2 separate regions of the Homo sapiens genome follow, and region 1 is linked to region 2. The links are contacts of gene promoters, found by promoter capture Hi-C in human tissues and cell types (Jung and others, 2019). All regions are on one chromosome and are shown on one strand. The core of a region is centred on a gene start or on the middle of the fragment in contact, and the rest is flanking DNA. Distances in the headings are between cores, read along the strand shown.

Region 1 (3,791 bases), core at 247-2,746, 180 kb after region 2:
TTGTAGTGCTAAACCCACCATGACATTTTACAAGAATACATAATCAAAAGAGGGAATTGACCAACAGAGAAGAAAGTACACAAAGAAACAAAAGTATATGGAGTTATAGAAGCAGCAGCTACCTCTGGGAATGTTGACCCTGCAGTCACTCAAGAGACTCTAGATATTGGAAGCTGATCCAAACTTAGAAAGGAGTATGACAGTTTGCCACAGGACAGGAAAAATGTCACTCTATATTATAAGCTATGCAATGAGAAGAAACCAAGCCCTGCTTAAACGACTCTTTATATGTAATTTACAAAGACAGAAAACATTTTAATTCTCAAAGATTCTAGTATTTTAAATTATAGTATAAATATTGGTTTTACTGTTTTTTCCTTTCCCAATACATGTATAATATTAATAACGAAGAGGGTTTTAAATGTTTCAACAAAAATTTTTAAGTGTCATGGAACGATTGTAATTTTTCCATTGATTATTAATATTGTTTTGCACAGTTTGACCAGGTACTTTTAGTCTTGCACTACTGCACAAAACAAAGACTGCCTGTACTTATTTTGGGGGTTTTTTCTTTGGTTGTTGGGGGGTTTTTGGTTTGTTTTTGTTTTTAGCTTTCTGTAGTTTTCTGCTAATTAACACAATAGAGCATCTCTCTTTTGTTTTCTGTGTTTGATGCTGTAACCAGCTTCCTTTTATTTTGATAATAGGATGAAGGTTATTAATTCCTAGCTCTCTAAGAAAAATAATATTCCTTTTATATATAGCTGACAACAGCTGTTTGAGACCTATTGATAGAAATGGGAAGCTTCTTTGTCCAGGTAAATCTTTTTGATAACTTTCAAAAGGTGGCTTATACTCGTCTGTCTTTCTTGATAAATAGTGGCCTCCAATACCTAATATTTAAAAATTACCTTTTGGAAACTGATTTATAGGACATATTTTCTTCCAGGTATCTTACCTTTATATTGCAGAAATCCTTAACCAGAAACAAACACTTCTGTTTTCTAAATGAAACACCATTCTTTCTGATTATCCGATTCTCATTTTACTCACGGGTTTGATCTAGTTATATTTTTTCCAGCTTTATTTTCAAAATTTTTCCATTTTTTTGTGAATTTTATTGCGATACCAATTATGAAATAAAATCTTCAGTTCTCATCTCTGTATCACCTCTTACCATTAGATTTAATTTAGTCATGGATGAGCCTAATTATTGATGGTAATAACAATCTCAACTTTAAACTTGGAAGAAGCTACTTCTTCATTTATGGATTGATTTGGATTATCTGGCTTTTAATCTATATAAACAACAGCTCTTTGAACAAGTCATTTTTATTAAGTAGGAAACTAGACTTTCATAGCTTCCATTTAGCATTGTTACATAGAAAACAGGAAGACAATATCTTAAGAGTATGGAAATTGAAAATCAAACCTAATCTTAGTGCATGTAATCCTTTTGTCTGAAGTGCAACTCATTTTTCTTCTTTCTTGATATTCTTGATTTTCAAAGAAATACTGATTTCAGCATTTATTTTTCTTAGAGAGCTAGGAATTAATAACCTTCATCATATTATCAAAATTTTTTTAAGTGCCGGACAGCTATACTTTGAAGGAAGCAGAATTGAAGATGGGAAGTTCATTGGGACTGTGTCTTGGAAAAGCACCAAGTTCGTCTCAGGTAAAATAAGGTCACCTGTTTCAAAACAAAATCAACCCTTCCATAACCAGAATTATAACTAGTACCTTAGCTACTCCAGTAATATTGTTTTTCTCTAAAAGTTTTTTCTTAAATCATACATTTTATTTTAGGAATATATCCTTATAGTTCTAGATGTTTAAATATAAAATATTATGCCAAAGCATATTTATGTTTCTTTTTCTGTGAAGATTTTGTGGTTAAAAGGAATCTTTGATGCTGAGTGGCCACCACTTTCAACCACTATATTTCCTAAGTTCTAAGATACACCTTCTTTTTCTCACATTTTTACATCTGTGAGATTAGGTTGCATCTTACAGTCAGGGACGTTCTGCAGTTATAGCTGGCACTGGTACAGAAAATAGTAAGTCTAACACTCAGTAGCATTTTAGGTTGAATGAAACACAGTTTATTAATTTTAGACTTAATTACTCTCTGCACTAATAGTCTCAGAGCAGCCTCCCTTTCCCCTTGTCTTTAACAGTGTCCATTTTCAGTATAAAACACCATCAGGTTTGACCTTTGCCAGAAGCCATACCCAGCTAATCAGCTTATTACAGTGCAGAAATCATAAGGATATTCTTATTGTGAATACCCTGTAGCAGGGTAATCTGGACTCAAATCAGGTTGCCCATGGTTCCCAAATTCACTTCATTACTTTCCCAACCACTTCCCCCTTAACTTGCTTTCCCCTGAACCGTAGCAAATAGTAGTGCATGACAAGCTGATAGGAGGGAAAACATGACAAGTGAGGTTGAGTTAGAAAGGAAAAGCAGGGCTATGAGGAACTGAATAAGAGATCAGATTTGTATTTTTCCTTTGGAGTCTTGAGAATTGTAATATTTGAAACCCTTGGCAGAAAATAAAATCATAACCAAGTGACTCAGAAAAAACATACTAATGCTAACTGTGTGTAGTAATTACAAATTCCTTTTGGGAGTGATCGAGACAGAGATGGAGATCATAGTAGAAGAAATAGTGTATGTTGGCCGGGCGCGGTGGCTCACATCTGTAATCCCAACCCTTTGGGAGGCTGAGGCGGGTGGATCACCTGAAGTCAGGAGTTCAACACCAGCCTGGCCAACATGGTGAAACCCTGCCTCTACTAAAAATACAAAAAATTAGCCAGGCGTAGTGGCATGCACCTGGAATCCCAGCTACATGGGAGGCTGAGGTAGGAGAATCGCTTGAACTTGGGAAGCAGAGGTTGCAGTGAGCCAAGATCGCTCCACTGCACTCCAGCCTGGGCAACAAGAGCAAAACTCCATCTCAAAAAAAAAAAAAAAAAAAAAAAAAAAGAAAGAAAAAGAAGTAGTGTATGTGGGAGACATTTATTAGGAGTAAAAAACATTGATGATGAAGCAATTTATACTTCTGGGTAGGCATAATTATTGCTTAAATTGTAACATTAATCATAGTCGTATTTTCATATAAATTGAGATTTTTTGTTAAAGTTTCATGGGCCCTTGGCTTTACATTTTTGAAAGTAAATAATACATTTATTGGATTTTTAAATTCAGATTAAATTGCATTTACACATCTGTCTTGTTATTAGTTGTTCCTGTTTTTTGCAATGGGGAGTGACGTTCAACCTGGGACAGAAATGGAAATCGTAGTAGAAGAAACAATATCTGTGAGAGATGTAAGTAATTTTACCTTTTGTTTTCAGAGGCTGTGTGTGTTTGTATGTTTGCTGTGAGGAACAGTGGTATCCTGTGTTAAGATTTGGAGGTCCTAAACTAGGCCTGATATGGTGTACTTCAGAGAATTATATGTACTCACTAGAGGAATTATTTTGGGAGCTTGAAAATTGGTGAACCAACTGGATTTTTTTTTTTTTTTTTTTTTTTTTAGAGAGTCTCAACTCTGTCACCCAGGCTGGAGTGCAGTGGCATGATCTCAGCTCACTGCAACCTCTGCCTCCCGGGTTCAAGTGATTCTCCTGCCTCAGCCTCCTGAGTAGCTGGGATTACAGTTACCTACTACCACACCCAGCTAATTTTTGTATTTTTAGTAGAGATGGGGTTTCTCCATGTTAGCCAGGCTGGTCTCAAACTCCTGACCTCGAGTGATCCACCCGCCTCGGCCTCCCAAA
Region 2 (3,461 bases), core at 529-3,028:
CTTTCTCTCTGATAAAAAAGGAACTGGAAAAGAAAATTGAGGCATAAAAGATAGAGGGAGTTGCCTGAAGCCCTTCAAAGTTGTAAATATTTACATTGAAATTTAAAACTCACAGATTTTTATTTTCCAAAGTAACTCTGGGCCCTTTTCCTACATGTCAGGAGGGCATCTGTAAACACTTGTCTTAGGTCAGAGGCCATACCCCTTTTGCTGAAAAGGCCAGTCAGTAAATGTGTAGGCTTTGCAGACCAAATACTTCTGTGGCACATATTCTTCATTGTTAAATTGTTTTAAAACTACAAAAACCATTCTTAGCTCTGGGCCATATAAAAACAGGTCTCAACATAAAAGGAAAAAAAAAAACAAAAAACAGGCCTTTGGGCAGATTGGGCTCACAGGCTGTAGTTCGCTGGTCCCTGGCTCAAGGTCCAGAGACAAAGCATGGGACAGAGTTGGGAAAATGGATTTTAACCTGGACCTGTTCCCTTAGTCAAGCCTTCACCTCTGTTTGAACTGGGACATTTCTAAGGCTCATTCAATGAGTATGTGACTGTCCCAGATTATCCAACTAAGCAAATCTCCTACTCTTGCCAAGCATGAGCCCTGTCTTCATCCGAATGCCTCTGTATCACTTCAGCCTCAGGTCTCCTATGTGTTCCCGCTGCTCCGAGCCGGGTATCACTTCCCCCCACCGTTTCTCCAGGAAATCCTCCAAGGGACAGTCGGCTCAAGGAGCCAAATGAGTGAGGGAGGACAGAGCCTGGAAGAAACAAGGCAGTCCAAAAGAAATAAACCCACCAACCTGAGACAAGTCTTTCCTCTTCTTACAGTTGATACCTCCAATGAAGACCATGTTGGGCATGACCGGCCTAGGATATTCAAGCACAAAGTCATATCTTAACAGCCAAACAGAGACCTTCTGATATAAGGTGATTATATCCACATCTCTCTTGAGGACAGCTGATGCGAGTTCTTCATACTTTGAAAACAGACAATAAAATAGATAGGGCTCCAACAAATTAACAAGGAAGTTGGCCACTCGTTGGGAAAAAGTCATGTGGTCTGAAAACTTTGTGTAGCACCTGGGAATGTAGGACACAGGGTCTGGGCTTCTGCTGAATGTATGCTCCAGGGAACACGGAAAACCCCTGAAGAGGTACACAGATGGTAGGCCCAAATACTCAGCCAGGATCACCCCACAGGGTAAGGCTGGGTCTGTGAAAAGAGCATCAAACTTGCTCTCCTTAAAGAAGTTCAGGGTGTCCCTGTCCTGCAGGAGGCTCTGGCAGTTGATGAAGTACAGGCCAATAACAATCATGTTATTCCTGTACTCTGTCTGAGGAGCAGTTAGGAATGATCGCTCAGCAAAGTGATTGTTTCCAAATGATTGGTAACGGTTCTTCAGCTCTTCTTGGTCATACGGCACTGGATAGATTTTTCTTGTGTAGTATTTGGATTCTTTCAAAAGCAAATTAACTTCAGGCACCACCACTACAATCTCATGACCCCGGTCACTGAGAACCTCAACTATATCCTTCATACTAAGCCAGTGGCTTCCGTCCTGAGGGACCACCAGCAGCTTGTCACCTACAACCATGCCCCAAAGTGCTAAGAAGAAAACCCCTGCAGAAATTCTCTGAAATGAGCGAAGGAGGCAGGCCATCCTGGAAAGAGTTAAAGTAACAACGGTAATAAAGAGTTTTCACTCTCCAAATCACAGGGCTCCTAGGTATTTTCCCTAAACTAACCACTGCTTTTCACAGGTCCTGTCTACCTCTCCCTTGCTCTGAATTTTACCCTTTGATATGTAAGAACCCAAATTAATATTTAACCATTTTAATCACATGGTTAATATGAACCAACTATGGCCGTGTCAGCTTTCACCTGAGCTTCTGGGTGTTTCTCTTCAGCTCCACAAGTCTGCTTCTCCCTCTCTGAAAAGTTATAGCAACACTTTGAAGATGACTTGGAGAGACCCCTGAGGACCCCCTGCCAATTCTCTATCCCGAACTTGCTGGATTCCTCATCATTGACGTTGTCTGTTATGTCCATGATGTGCGGGAATTTTTCTTGCACACGGACCTATTCTCTAACACCAGCTGGGTATCCTACAATTCAATTCCATTCTGAACTGAATTCTGAGTTAGCACGGACCCCACAGGTTAAGGGCTCAGTCCTACAAGACTGCCCTCACTTCAGACACCAATTGCAAGTAGTAGGTCCCCAGGTTACCCACAACTTCTGTCTGACTTGGCAAAAATCAGAGGTTCACACACCCTCTTTCTTGGAGTCAATCATTTGCTAGAATGGCTCACAGAACTGAAGAAAACAGTTTATTTACTAGGTTTGGTTTATTACAAAGGATATTGCAAACAATACGGATGAATAGCCAGAGGAAAAAGTACAAAGAACAAGATATGGGGGTATGGCCATGGAGCCCCATCTGCCATCTCTGGGTGCCCCACCCTCCACACCTTCAGCAACCTGAAAGCTCTCTGAACCCTGCCCTTCTGAGTTTTTATGTAGGCTTCCATACATAGTAGGCATGATTGATTAGATTGTTGCCCATCGGTGATCAAATCAATCTTCAATCTCTCTCTCCTTTCTTCCCTCTAATCGCAAGGGTTTTGTTCCCTGGCAACTAGCCCTCATCCTTAGAGACTTTACATCTCCTTTACATAAACTTAGGTGTGATCGAAAGGGATCTGTTTTGAATAACAAAAGATTCTTTGTTCACGTTTATCGCTCCCACCACTTATGGTTTCAGGAGCTGTGTCCAGGAAACAAAGACAAACATATATTTCTTATTATACATCACAATATAACAACATTCAAACTGTTACTTGCCTTTAGGAAATTAAGATTTGAGAAGTATAAGTCTAGCCAGTACGTGGTGAGAATCCTAGAGCAGGAGTCAGAAAGCCTGGTATCTGCTTCTGGCCCAGCCACCCATCTGCCAGGGGAGTGACTCCTCTCCTGAGCTTCAGGTTTCTCAACTGAGGCCCAGAAAGGGAGGGTCACACTGGCCCTGCCTGCTAACCACACTGCTGAGGGCGGTCCCAGAGCAAGACCTGTGTAGAAACTAGGCTGTCCCAGTGAGAGGTGGTACCTTGAATTACTAGAACAGACTTGCCCAGAGCTAGTCATGCACACCTGGCTGGCACGCGAGTTCCTGTTCCCACCCACAAGTTTGGCACCGGAGGTGTTCTGGGGCCCAGGAAGGGAGAAGAAGCCTGAGCAACATGATTAGAGGGGCCACTCCAAGGACAGGGCTGGCCCCCATGGGGAACATAACCAGGATGCAAATTCATTGTTCAAGGCATGCGAAGACTCAGCTCAGTCCAAGCTGGGAGCAGCCTCCCAAGAGGATTGGCAGCTTACAATGATCAAAGTCATGGGGGCGGCAGCATCTTGCTTTGAGTTCATCTAGATAGCAATAAGACTCCAGGAAGGTTGCAAAG

The links. The method cuts DNA at HindIII sites, captures the fragments that hold promoters and counts their contacts. A contact is called where the count stands out against the background at its distance.
Region 1: a fragment that was not itself captured here is called in contact with the fragment with the promoter of UGT1A6 in region 2 in 2 of the 25 tissues and cell types used here (liver and mesendoderm cells).

What each region holds. Positions count from the first base shown.
Region 1 is chr2:233,509,596-233,513,386 of GRCh38, reverse strand. It overlaps USP40 (ubiquitin specific peptidase 40), which reads left to right. Exons shown (of 32, transcript NM_001365479.2): 19 at 765-818; 20 at 1,590-1,678; 21 at 3,252-3,338. Among named protein-coding and RNA genes, the nearest start is that of USP40, 55 kb to the left of the region's middle. The HindIII fragment of the contact is 4,674 bases long and covers 1-3,791 here.
Region 2 is chr2:233,691,207-233,694,667 of GRCh38, reverse strand. It overlaps UGT1A6 (UDP glucuronosyltransferase family 1 member A6), which reads right to left and starts at 1,778. Exons shown (of 5, transcript NM_001072.4): 1 at 803-1,778. The coding sequence starts at 1,663. The region is part of intron 1 of UGT1A8 (UDP glucuronosyltransferase family 1 member A8); the gene reads right to left. The region is part of intron 1 of UGT1A10 (UDP glucuronosyltransferase family 1 member A10); the gene reads right to left. The region is part of intron 1 of UGT1A9 (UDP glucuronosyltransferase family 1 member A9); the gene reads right to left. It also overlaps UGT1A7 and UGT1A. RefSeq lists enhancers at 2,426-3,032, 3,033-3,461. The HindIII fragment of the contact is 31,227 bases long and covers 1-3,461 here.